2 separate regions of the Homo sapiens genome follow, and region 2 is linked to region 1. The links are contacts of gene promoters, found by promoter capture Hi-C in blood cells and fetal thymus (Javierre and others, 2016). All regions are on one chromosome and are shown on one strand. The core of a region is centred on a gene start or on the middle of the fragment in contact, and the rest is flanking DNA. Distances in the headings are between cores, read along the strand shown.

Evidence for each region. Contacts are between HindIII fragments. The CHiCAGO score rates a contact against its expected background, and 5 or more counts as called.
Region 2: a contact is called between a fragment that was not itself captured here and the fragment with the promoter of NIPAL4 in region 1, in 1 of 17 cell types (activated CD4 T cells). The highest score is 6.8, in activated CD4 T cells.

The regions. Positions count from the first base shown.
Region 1 is chr5:157,455,587-157,461,931 of GRCh38, reverse strand. It overlaps NIPAL4 (NIPA like domain containing 4), which reads right to left and starts at 1,719. Exons shown (of 6, transcript NM_001099287.2): 1 at 1,575-1,719. The coding sequence starts at 1,611. NIPAL4-DT (NIPAL4 divergent transcript) reads left to right here and starts at 1,832. Exons shown (of 3, transcript NR_136205.1): 1 at 1,832-1,924. RefSeq lists a silencer at 1,666-1,825. The HindIII fragment of the contact is 3,531 bases long and covers 783-4,313 here.
Region 2 is chr5:157,656,102-157,662,350 of GRCh38, reverse strand. LOC105377675 (a long non-coding RNA gene) reads right to left here. Exons shown (of 3, transcript XR_941127.3): 2 at 4,340-4,500; 3 at 314-3,822. It also overlaps a transcript of SOX30 not described here. Among named protein-coding and RNA genes, the nearest start is that of SOX30, 6.8 kb to the right of the region's middle. The HindIII fragment of the contact is 8,214 bases long and covers 1-6,249 here.

The DNA.
Region 1 (6,345 bases), core at 470-2,969:
GTGGAACAGACTAAAGGCAATGTTGACCTTTCTTCCACGACACAGACCCATGAATAACAGAGCTTGAAGAGCCCTTAGAAAGCAGTCTAAATTCTTATTTTTTCTGGGGAAACTGAGGCCCTGAGAAAGGGAAGAGCTTGCTTAAGTCACCCCAACATCTGGTGAAAGATCTGGATCCAGCACCCACTGGGGCACATCCATGTGTCTTTTGCAGTGTGATATCTCTCTTTCCAAAACTCGTGTCACAATCAAGGGAAGATGAGACAAGAGGCATCTCAGTCCCTAATCAGACTTGTTCTGCACTGCTCATTCCTGTTTCTCCAGCTCAGGCTTCCTTGCCCAAGAGCTGAATCTGGGGAGTTCCCTGAGCCCAGGAAATGAGCCAGAACCTGGGAGAACATGGGCTAGGGGAGGTGACTCCTGAGAGGAAGACCAAACTCATCCCCACGCCCTTCCCCTGCTCCCTGAAGGTGCACCTCTAGCAGATGGAGCCAACGAACCCTCTGTGGATGGACTTGGCTGTCACAGTAAAGCCCGCAACACCCAAGGGCTGAGCATCCTCCATTGAGTCAAGTTCTCCCACTGCAGTGAAAAGTAAAAGACAGAGGGCTGATGGCCAAAGTAATCCAATTCTGAGCATGGGCCAGATGATTCCTGTTATCTCTTCCAGAATATGCTAGGACTGGGGAACACATTCTGGCCTAGAGAAAAGGTGAGGCTGAAAATGCCTGCCTTGTTCAGGAAACCAAAGTCAGACACCTAACAGGCTGGCTTTGAAAGCTTCACTGTAGAAGGGAAGAGGTTAGAGAAACAGGGACATGCCACAGCCTGCAGTTCCAAGACAAGGTAGGAAAGTGGAGCCACACCAAGGAAGGAGTTGAGGTTTTACTGTCCACCAGCCTTGGATCTATATTCCATTTCCTCACTGTATTACCTTGAGCAAATTATTAGCTGCTCAGAGCCTCAGTTTCTGGATCTTTAGAGTGGGGATAGCAAGATAGTAAAATAATAATACCTACCTACCTTCTAGAGTTGTTTTAAGGATTCAGTGAGATAATGCGGGTAAAGGGCCTAGTCCACTACCTGCTTTATGGTCAGAACGCAATAGGAAGTCAGGGGTCTTTCTTTACCCCTTCCTGTGGTTCTTTTTCTTTTCCAAAGACAAGACCGTCCTGTGATGGTCCTCCCATTGACCCAGAGAGAAAGCCCAAACTGCGCAGGTACTAAAACCTGAAGCAACTACACATTAAAAACACAGAATCCTCCCCCCGCCCCCACCACCTCTCAGGGTGTCTGCTGTCGTCAAAATGCCTGCCCCCCACTAACCCCCCATCTCAACCCAGGGGACATACTTTCCTTCCCTGACTCCTCTCAGCCATCCCAGCTGCGAAGATGAAAGTGAAGTCTCAGCCAGAACCCAGATCTTCAAAGCTGGGTGGGAGCCACCTCGTGCTGGCCCTGCCCCTCCCCAGCTTTGGCCCCCCTGGGAGGAGAGGATGCGAGGGAGAGCGGTGGCAAGGAGGGGAGGGCGCGAAGCGCGGAGCCCGCCTGGTCCCCAGCCCTGCCGTACGCACCGTTCTCGCAGCTGGTGTTGCTGACCCGCAGCTCCATGGGGCCCGGGGCACACGAACCGACGCGCGGGCGGACGGCGCCCGGGCTCCCCAGCTCCGGAGCAGGTGGCCGCGACTTGTCCCCCGCGTGGCTCGCGCGCGAGAAGCCGCCGGGGTCCGGACCCAGGGGTGGGGAGAGTGACGCGTCCCAGAGTGGGAGAGTCCCCGGGGAGGAGTCACCCGGCATCTTGGGCAATTCCGGGGGCAGGGGGCCCAGGGCTGGGGCCGCCCGCAGAGGGGCGCATGCCTTCCTGGGGTGAGGACGCTGCCAGGCTCCCAGCTCTGGAGTCACCGCCCCGTGCTAGGGGCAAGAGGTGAGGAGGCGGGTTCCCCGGCACCGCTCCTCCGATGCCTGCACCGGCACCCAGCTCCATCCCCAGGGAAAGAGTACAGGGGACCTAGATGGCTGGAGAAGGGGCAACTTTCCTGCCGAGGTGGAAGTGGCAACATAGGGGTTGGAAGTGGGTACTGCTGCCAATTGGGAACCTGGGTTCCTTCTTTTCCTTCCTTCTCGCCCTCCTACCCTCCCCCTCTCCTTCCTCCCCTCCACCTTTCCTCCCTTCCTTCCATTTCACCCTCCTGCCCTTCCTCCCTGCCTTCTGCCCTGCGACCTCCTTTCCTTGCCTTACCCGTTCATTGATTCAACCCAGGTCTGATCTGTGCTGGTAGGTAACAGGTACATAGTGAGTTAATGCTCAATATATATTTATGTCTAATGAATAGATAATAGGAGCTTGGTAAATTAAATGAAAGAAGGAAATGAAGTGATTGGAGACCAAAATGAGTCAGACTATTCCCTGTCCCCCAAGTACCTTATATTTTAATGGGGGAAACAAAATGTGATCATCTCTTAGAGACCAATGTTTTTGAAATTACCACTTTAAAATTATTTATACACACACACACATACACACGTTGTGATGGAAAGCATATTTGTTACTATGGGTAACAGTAAAAAGCAAGTTAGAAAACCACTGACCTGGAGCATAAAAATAGGTATGTAGAGTTTGCTATAGGCCAGGCAGAGTTCTAAGTGCTGAAAAATTCCAGTTCATTTAATCTTCATGACCGCCTTATAATGTACAGACTTTTATTATTTACCAAAAGGAAACTGAGGCACAAAGTGCTCAAGTAACTTGCTGGGGATCTCAGCTGAGAAGCAGAAAAGCCAGGATCAAACTCGTGCTGTCAGTGGTCACATTAAGCCGCCTGGCATTTTACACTGAAATAAACTGCTCCTGGGCAGTGAGGGTGTGGGGCTACTGAGAAAGCAGTGATTGGTTCTGCCAGTGGTGCTCACCGGCTTCCTGGAGGAGGCAGCTTTTAAGAATTGTTATGTATGGAGTCGTCAGCATGGGCCAGACACTGTGCTAACCCCTTTCCAGGCACTGTCTCATCGAAGCCTCCTAGGAGACAGATATCCTTACTCTTTCCATGCTACAGATAAGAGGAAACTGTTATTTTTAAAAATTTTATCATGAGATAATTTTAGACTTATAGAAGAGTTACGAAAATAGTATAGAGAGTTCCCATATACCTGTCACCAGCTTCCCTTAATGTTAACATCTTGTATAGGAATAGAAAAAACTGTCCTTTAAATACTCTGAGACACTTGCTCCCAAGGTTGCACAGCTAGTGAACGAGGGTGCCAGGTGTAAACCGAGCTGCTCTGACCCCAAGCCTGTCCTCCTACCTACGACCCTCCACTGTCTACTTGCGGACCTCTAGCTGGGCCTCTAAGGATGGGTTCTCCCAGCATGGGGCTTCCTCTAATTTGCTGGATGACTTTAAACAAGTTGCTTACTCTACATAAGGATCAATTTCTTTGTCAAATGCAACAGCCCCTTCTCCAAGGGGTCGGGATCGGGTTGGGGAAGGGAGAGGTTAAAAGAGAAAGGGAAATGTGAGACACAGCAAATGTAACAAGCCACGTTTGCTCATTTTACTTGCTGCATAATTTCACAAGCCCTTGATTCTGTAATGATGTGCACCTCTCTGGAAAAATGCTTTGAAAACAAAGCAGGATACAGCACAAGGCCCCCACAACTTTTGCCTGAGACACTATATTTCTTAAAAGATAAATGACCCTAGACCTTGCCTATTCCTACACATAGGATAATGTTTGACAAGGTTAGTGACTATGCCTCTATCATCTATAACCAGATATACTCTTGCACCCAGACTTTCATGTGATTCTGCTTTACTGTAACTTCTGAGCAAGTTTGATGTAATGTTTGAGCACATACTGCACTTCTGCTACGTGTATATCAGCTATGAGCTAAAACACTGTTTCAGAGCAGTGGGACAGGACCTCTCTGAAAGACTCCTCCCAGACTTTGTCTTCAGTCTCTAGTCCTCAGTAAGACTTCTGCTTTTTTTTTTTTTTTTTTTTTTGAGACAGAGTCTCACTCTGTTGCCCAGGCTGGAGTGCAGTGGCTCGACCTCGGCTCACTGCAAGCTCCGCCTCCCATGTTCAAGCGATTCTCCCACCTCAGCTTCCGGAGTAGCTGGGATTACAGGCGCCCACCACCACGCCCAGCTAATTTTTGTATTTTTAGTAGAGACAGTGTTTCACCATGTTAGCCAGGCTGATCTCAAACTCCTGACTTCAGGTGTTCCACCTGCCCCGGCCTCCCAAAATGCTGGGATTACAGAACCTCAGTAAGACTTCTGAATAAAACTAACTTTAATTCCTTAAAAGCTTGATTTTCTTTTAGTTGACAGAAGTCATAGCCATTGCCAACAGAATATATCCAAGTCTGCAGGTGAGTGTGCCCAGGCCCGCCTCTAACTTTGGAGGTGTGTGGTACCACCGTTCAGGTAGAGGGGAACACCTCCAAGACTATATGAATTTGAACACAGAGCAGCAAGACACTAGATGATTGGCCCTATTCGGAAGTGAGACTTCATGATGAAAAAATATATGCATCCATGCTACCTGCAAGGGAGAATTTGACAAGAGAATTCAACTTATCTTTCTCTTCTCTAAGCATTTCTGCTGTTCAGCTCCTCCTTGTGCTATAAAACGGAGTCAGCACTGAACCTGGAGTGGTACAGTCCTCAAACCCTCACTGCATTCAAACTTGACTGCTTTTATTCCAAGAACATAGGGTGAGAGATTCGGAGTATTTCCCTCTGGTCTGACCTTTTTTCTTCCTCGCTTTATTGAAGTATGACTGACAAATGAAAGTTATATATATTTAAAATGTACAACATAATGATTTGATATAGGTGTACATCGTGAATGATAACGACGATTAAGCTAATTAATACATCTATCACCTCACTTAGTTATATTGTGCGTGTGTGTGCATACATGCGTGTATGTTGAGAACACTTTAAATAGTGGCTTCTCTTAGTGGCCTTTTTGAATCACAAGAGAGGATGTTTCAGATTGTAGTTGCCAGAGCTAAGCCCAGATCCTGAGAGACAGATGCACATATATGTTCTTTAATGCATTTATTTTTGTATGTGTTTGTGATTTGTGGAACCTCTAAATTTTAGGGTCAGGGAAGGGGCCTCCTTGTCAGGGGTTAAGGGCAATATTGAGTTTATCCTATGCTTCAAGACCGGCCTTTTCAGAGTCAGGAGAATCTCATGTTTTAGGGCAGTGGCATGAGGGGAAGGAGGCTAGGATCCACTGCAGGGACTTTCACAACCTCACTGGGCCTCAGGCTCCCCATCTGTTCTAAAAGGGGGCTGGGCCTCAACAGGGCTGGCATCAGAGCATCTTGCCAGTGTAGACATAAAGGGCCCCATTGAACTGCAGTCTTCTCGGCTGCTTCCTGACAAAGCCCTTTTCTCCTCTAGCCACAATGGCCCTGTCAGGCAGGTAGCAGGGCCTGCAGCTTTGTCTCCCCAGAAAAGAACAACAGGGTTCACTGTCTGTTCCAGGCTCAGTCTCCCTGAGGAGGGTGGGTGGCTTACGAAGGGTCTAACAAGCCAGGGACAGATGGGTTCTGCCCTTAGCCAGCCAGCGACTGGTGACCCAGCCGCAGCTCTTTCGGTCAGTTATTCTGGGATGAGTAGGAAAACAAATTCACCAAAACCCAAGTTTTTAAAAACTTGACTTTTCCAAGTGCATGTCCAGATGTTTTAGGTTACAGAGCTGTGCCGTCCAATATGGCAGCTACCAGCTGCATGTGGCTTTTGAGAACTTGATGAGCCGCTAATCTGAATCGTGATGTGCTATAAGTAGAAAACAGGCTCAGTTAGCATTTTGGACTAGATCGTTCTTTGTTGCTGGAGGCTGTCCTGTGCTCGTAGAATGTTTAGCAGCACCCCTGGCCTCTACCCTCTGGATGCCAGCGGCACACACACCCCTGCACCCCGACACCCACCCCAGTTTTGACAATCAAAAACACCCCCAGACAATTGCCAAAATCACTCTGGGTTGAGAACCACTCAGATTTCAAAAACTTAGTAAGGAAAAAAAAGGAAAATCTCATTAATGATTTTTAAATATTGATTACATGTTAAAATGATAATATTTTGGATGCATTGGGCTAAGTAAAAACATTATTAAATTATTTTTCCTATTCTTTTCACTCTTTATAAAGTGGCTACTAAACTGTTTAAAATTACATATGTAGCTCATGTTATGTTTCTTTTGGGCAGTGCTGTTAATGGAAGAAACTGAGTGCCAGAGAGGGAAAGTGACCAACAGAAGGTCACAGAGCAACAGAGAGGCAGTCCGGGCCCCAGTCAGGTTTTCAGACTGGCACCTGTAGGATAA
Region 2 (6,249 bases), core at 2,794-5,293, 200 kb before region 1:
AATCAATAAAAAGAAAACAGCAAAACAATAGAGAAAATTAGTGAAACTTACAGTTAATTCCTTGAAAAGATCTACAAAATTGTTAACTTTTTAGTCAAATGACCAAGAAAAAAAGAGAGAAGACAGAAATTACCAAAATTGGGATTAAAAGAGGAAGCATTCTGAACCCTATGGAAATTAAAAGGCTTATAAAGGAATATTTTGAACAACCTTATGCCAACAATTTGTCAACTTAGATGAAATGGGCAAATTCATTAACAGAAATGATCAAAGTAGACTCAAAAAGAAATTATACAATTTGCATAGATATATATCAGTGAAAAACATTAAAGCGTTTAATTAAATTATTTTAGAATCTTCTTCAAAGCAAAGTCCAGGCCTCCATGGTTTTATTGGGAACTCTATTAACATTTAAATAATTAATAATACCAATCCAATGGAAATCTTTTCAAGAATAGAAGGGGACACTTTACAGCTCATTTTACCCTGATACTAAAAGCCACAGACAAAGATATCACAAGAAAATTATAGAACAACACTCGTCATGAATGTAAATGCTAAAATTGTTTAAATAACAACAAATTAGATCCAGTAATGTACAAAAAGGATTATACACTATTACCAAGTGTGGTCGATTTATTACAGGAATGTTCTTTAGCTTAACATCTGAGTATCAATTCATGTAATACATATATTAATAGAATAAATCAGTGGTCAGCAAACTATAGCCAAAAGCAAACTATAGCCCTTGGGCCAAATCTGGCATGACATTTGTTTTTGCAAATAAAGTTTACTGAAACAAAGCCAAGCCCATTCATTTGCATATTGTCTATGATTGCTTTCTGCTACAAAGCAGAGTTGATTGGTTGCAACAGAGCTCATATGGCTCACAAAACCAAAAATATTTACTATATAGCCTTTTCTGGAAAATGTTGCTGACCCTTAAAGGAAAAAGCCATATAATCATCTCAATAGACACAGACAAAGCATTTGATAAAATTGAACTACTATTCATGGTAGAATTCTCAATAAACTAGGAATAGAAGGAAACTTTCTTACTTTGATAAAAGGCAGCTACATAAACCTATGACTAACAACATGCTTAAAGGTGAATGACTGGATGCTTTCTTCCTAAGACTGGGTGCAAGGCAAAAGGATGTACACTCTCACCACTTCTATTTAACCTTGGACTAAAAGTTCCAGCCAGTGCAATAAGGTAAGAAAATAAAAATACAAAAATCAACATACAACCAACTGCAAAGGAAATTTTAAAAAATTACATTCACAAATAGCATAAAAAGAATAAAGGATTTAGAAATAAAGTTAATGAAAGAAGTACAGGACAGTACACTGAAAATTATAAAACATTGTCAAAGGAAATTAAGACCTAAATAAATGGAGATATGTCCCATGTTTGCAAATAGGAAAATACAGTATCATCAAGGTGTCAGTTTTCCCAAAATTGATCCATAGATTCAATATAATTTCTATCTAAATACCATTAGGGTTTGCTTTAAAAGAAATTGATATGATGAACCTAAAATTTATCTTTTAAATCCAAAGGACCAAGAAAAGCCAATATGATTTAATGAAAGAACAAAGTTCAAGGACTTACATGATTTCAAAATTTCAAAATTTACCATAAAGCTAGAGTAATCAAGACTGTGGTACTGGCATAAAAATATGTATATAGCTTGGCACGGTGACTCATGCCTATAATCCAGCCTGGGTAACAGAGTAAGAACCCCATTTGTAACAAAAGAAAAAAAAAGAGATACTGTAAACCAAAAATAAAATTCTAAATTCCCCAACCAATGAAATGGACCCCTCCTTTTGGCCAAGGGTATATTTTTTATATTTTATTATTTTATTTTATATTTTATTTTATTTTACTTTACTTTATTTTATTTTATTTTATTTTATATTTTTGAGACAGAGTCTCACTCTGTTGCCCAGGCTGGAGTGCACTGGTGCAGTCTCAGCTCACTGCAACCTCTGCTTCCTGAACTCAAGCAATTCTCCAGCCTCGGCCTCCCGAGTAGCTAGGACTACAGGCACAGGCCATCACACCTGGCTAATTTTTGTATTGTTTTGTAGAGACGAGATTTTGCCACGTTGCCCATGTCGGTCTAAAATTCTTGGACTCAAGCAATACTTTTGCCTCAGCCTTCCAAAGTGCTGGGAATGCAGGCATGAACAACTGCACCAGGCTAGGGCATTTTAAAGTAAACCTAAAACACTAGCTCAGGCTACAATGGGAATGGGTGGTCAGACATGCCTCATTAAACATTCCTCCCGTTGGAATTCAGGCACAGCTGACCAGCATTAACATAGAAACAGCGACTTTCAGACTGACAGAATAGACTTTTTAGGTCTGATATTCTCTGAAGCCTACTATCTGGAGGCTTTATCTGCATAATAAGAACCTTGGTATCCACAACCCCATATCTTAACCCAGACACTCCCTTCTGTTGATTCTAGGTCTTTAGATAAGTCTTTCAACCAATTGCCATTCAGAAAATCTTTGAATCCACCTGTGATCTGGAAGCCCTGATTTGAGTTGTCACACCTCTCTGGACTGAAGCTATGTACATCTTACAGTATTGAATGATGTCCTATGTCTCCCTAAAATGTATAAAAGCAAGCTGTAGCCTGACCACCTTGGTGACATGTTGTCAGGACTTCTTGAGGCTGTGTCACGGGGATGTCCTTAACCTTGGCAAAATAAACTTCTAAATTGATTAAGGCTTGCCTCAGATACTTTTGGTTTATAGTACATAGATGGAAGGAATGGAAGGAACAGAACAGAGAGTTCAGAAATACACCCATGCATCTATTGTCAATTACATTTTGATAACTGAAATCAGAATATGAACTGAAACCTTGCACAAAATTAACACTAACTTTCTTATTGGACCCCACCACTTACCCAAAGTTAGCCTTTGAGTTGGGGGTTTCCACAGTATAGTGGGACCATTCCATGGTCACCAGAAAGACGTTACAGGATCCTAGCACTTACTGGGAATATCTGCACTATAGGCTCATCTGGGTCACCAGAAAGATGTTACAGGAAAGGGGTCCAGGTCCAGAACCCAAGAGAAGGTTCTTGGATCTCACACAAGAAAGAATTCAGGATGAGTCCACAGAGTAAAGTGAAAGCACGTTTAAGAAAGTAAAGCAATAAAAGAATGGCTACTCCATAGACAGAGTGCTGGTTGCCCATTTTTATGGTTAGTACTTGATGATATGCTAAACAAGGGGTGAATTATTCATGCATCCCTTTTTAGACCATATAGGGTAATGTCCTGATGTTGCCATGGCATCTGTAAACTATCATGGCACTGGTGGGAGTGTAGCAGTGAGGATGATAAGAAGTGACTCTTGTCACCATCTAGGTTTTGGTGGGTTTTAGCCAGCTTCTTTACTGCAACCTGTTTTATCTGCAAGCTGTTTATGACCTGTATTTTATGCCAGCCTCCTATCTCATCCTGTGACTTAGAATGCCTTAACTGTCTGGGAATGCAGCCTAGTAGGTTTCAGCCTCGTTTTACACAGCTTCTACTCAAAATGGAGTTGCTCTGGTTCACACGCCTGACATTACCCCCTCCCTTTTATAATCCTAAAGGTTTGTATAATTTTAATCCTAAGGGTTGCAGAGGGTTGAAAATCCATCTTCTGTAACTTCTTCATGCTGAATAGGAGCAATGATATTCTTGCTTAACTATGAGAGTCTCTTGTATTCAGGGTAGAGAGGAGCTCAGTCAGAAAGCATCAGTATGGCGAGGGCAATTCATAACTCCGAGTTTTGACAAAAGGTGATATCTGGAAGATTCATAAGTGTGCTCAGAATTAGAATACTGATTTAGATTTTTACATTACCCATCCCTCTTGTTTCTTCTGAGCAGCAGTCAGATGTCACTAGTTGGTTCAGAGGAATAAGCAGGGTTAGCCTAAATTGCAGAAACAAACTTAAAAACAACTGATGAGACTAGAATTTAATAACAAGTGTACCACAGTTTCTGAAACATAATTTCTCTCTCCAGTTTCCCATTTTTACTAAAGACAAATCACGGTAAGACTGATTTGCTTTACTATAATTGGCCTGATTAGTTGTATAAAGTGCAATGAGAATAATTATTTTTTACATAACCACTTTTTAAATTGGTTTTGATGCAACTTTATTCCATAGAAAGAATCTCAGATAAGACTTTTTCAGAGCTGAGCCCTGCCATAGGTTTGTACCCTCAAATACCTATGAGATGAGTAAATTCCCCTCCTCTTGGGGTCCCAAGATAACCTGGGGATCCTGGACCTGTAGAAAGTGACATTCTTTACTTACCACAGGTCAGAAACCCTGTACAGGGGCTGTTGTAGACAAGGTCTGAGGCCAATTCCCCAAGGGGCTTTTATTGGCTTTACAAGTCAAGTTTGATTCCTTAAAGGAAAACGTGCCATTCCAGTCAAAGCGTTGGTAAAATAACCACTGTTTCCAATTGTGTCCTGTTGCAAAAGAAAAGAGGTTCTTATTGCACTTATGCAAATAACTATATTGCCATAATGTAAGAATACTCACAAATAGTTTCCACATTCTGGAGAAATTAGGTAGAGAGAACTAAATATGCTTCAAATGTTATTCACAGCAATATACTTTACTCAATTGCTACAAGCTGCAAATAGCTCAAAAGATAAGTTTCCTTGACTCTGAAAAACAAAACAAAGGATCAGCAGCATTTTAAGCAAAGTTAAAATGATTACTTTAGTCTTCTATTAGTTCAGTCAATGCAGTTAACTTCTGTTCTGCTTGATATTCCTGAACATTTCAGCTCTCCATGAGTATTCTGAAAGTGTTTTCCTTTATTTTAATATCACAATTTCCAAAGTTATCAGAAATCTGCATTTAAGAACACCTGTTAGAGTTCTACAGTTGATTATAAACCAACTTTTGAAGAGGATTAAAAGACAACAATTGTGTGTGGATGACAAAAAGTCTTAGGACAGCCACTATTAAAGTCTCAATTGATAAGGAAATTTGCTTCCTTCTGTGGTATACAATGATTTTATGTAACAATTATAATTATTCACAATATACACCAAGTCATATCAGAATTATAAGACTTTTAAAAATAATTTTCAATATATACCAATAATACATTTATACAATTACAGCCCCCAAAAATCCAAACACCATTTTACATTTGATAATGCTTCCTGTGTGGTTTTTGTACCAAATAAGCCAAATGTGACTCTTGCATTAGTGCATTATTGATGACAAACCCAATTCTTTATAAAACCTTATAGACAAATGTATTCAATCTTAATCAGTTTGACTATAAGGTAAGATTCTCACAAACCTTTTATAACCCTTTACATATTTTTGTTAAAGAGCAAATCATAGCAGGTTTTTGCTCTAAAAAAACTTGTGCTTTTATTCCAATGTTTAATTTATAGAAAAACTGAATACCCCTTTAACTTTAACTAATATATTCACACACAGAATGTCCTACAATTAATTTTTCACACTTTCCAAAACTTTCTTAAACCTTCAGCTTCATTCTATCTAACTTAAAACAATAATTTAACCATTTAATCTAAGGAAGAAAATTTACATTCTCATGACTTCTAATGATCTTTTACCAAAAACACATTTCACTTTCCTTACACACCTTATGTGTAGAACTATTCTTCAGTAGTCTCAATTACATGTTACAATGTTAACTTTCAGCGATTTTTACTTTTGGTGAAAACCCTGGTTGGTAAGCATTTTAATTATGTACTAGGTGTGCAGCCTAGGACACAGACAGAAGTGCAGATAAGGTCTGACTTTTTCTAGCATTGCTTGGGGTATGGCTAACATCACATGTCCCCAGGCCTTATCTAGACTCTAATATGGTCAAAGTAGGTAAATTAAACAATTTTCAAAAGTGAAAGCAGCAGCTTATGAACTTAAAGCATTTAGCAAACCTAATATCTGACCTGCATAATTTAGACCAAATGTTTACATTTTAAGATATTTTTATTTTACCAATAATCTTTAAAACTGTCTTCATTTCCCAAAGATTACTTAAGTCACATGAACTATATAAAAGGCATTATATGTTTAATTTTTCTCACAAAAATATGACTGAAGCACTTATTATTTTTAACCGATTAATCAAACCTCTGTTATATACAAGCACCACACACATGATACACATAAATACACAGACAAAAGATAAAGGACTCATCTCCTAAGATGGGAATTGAACCCTG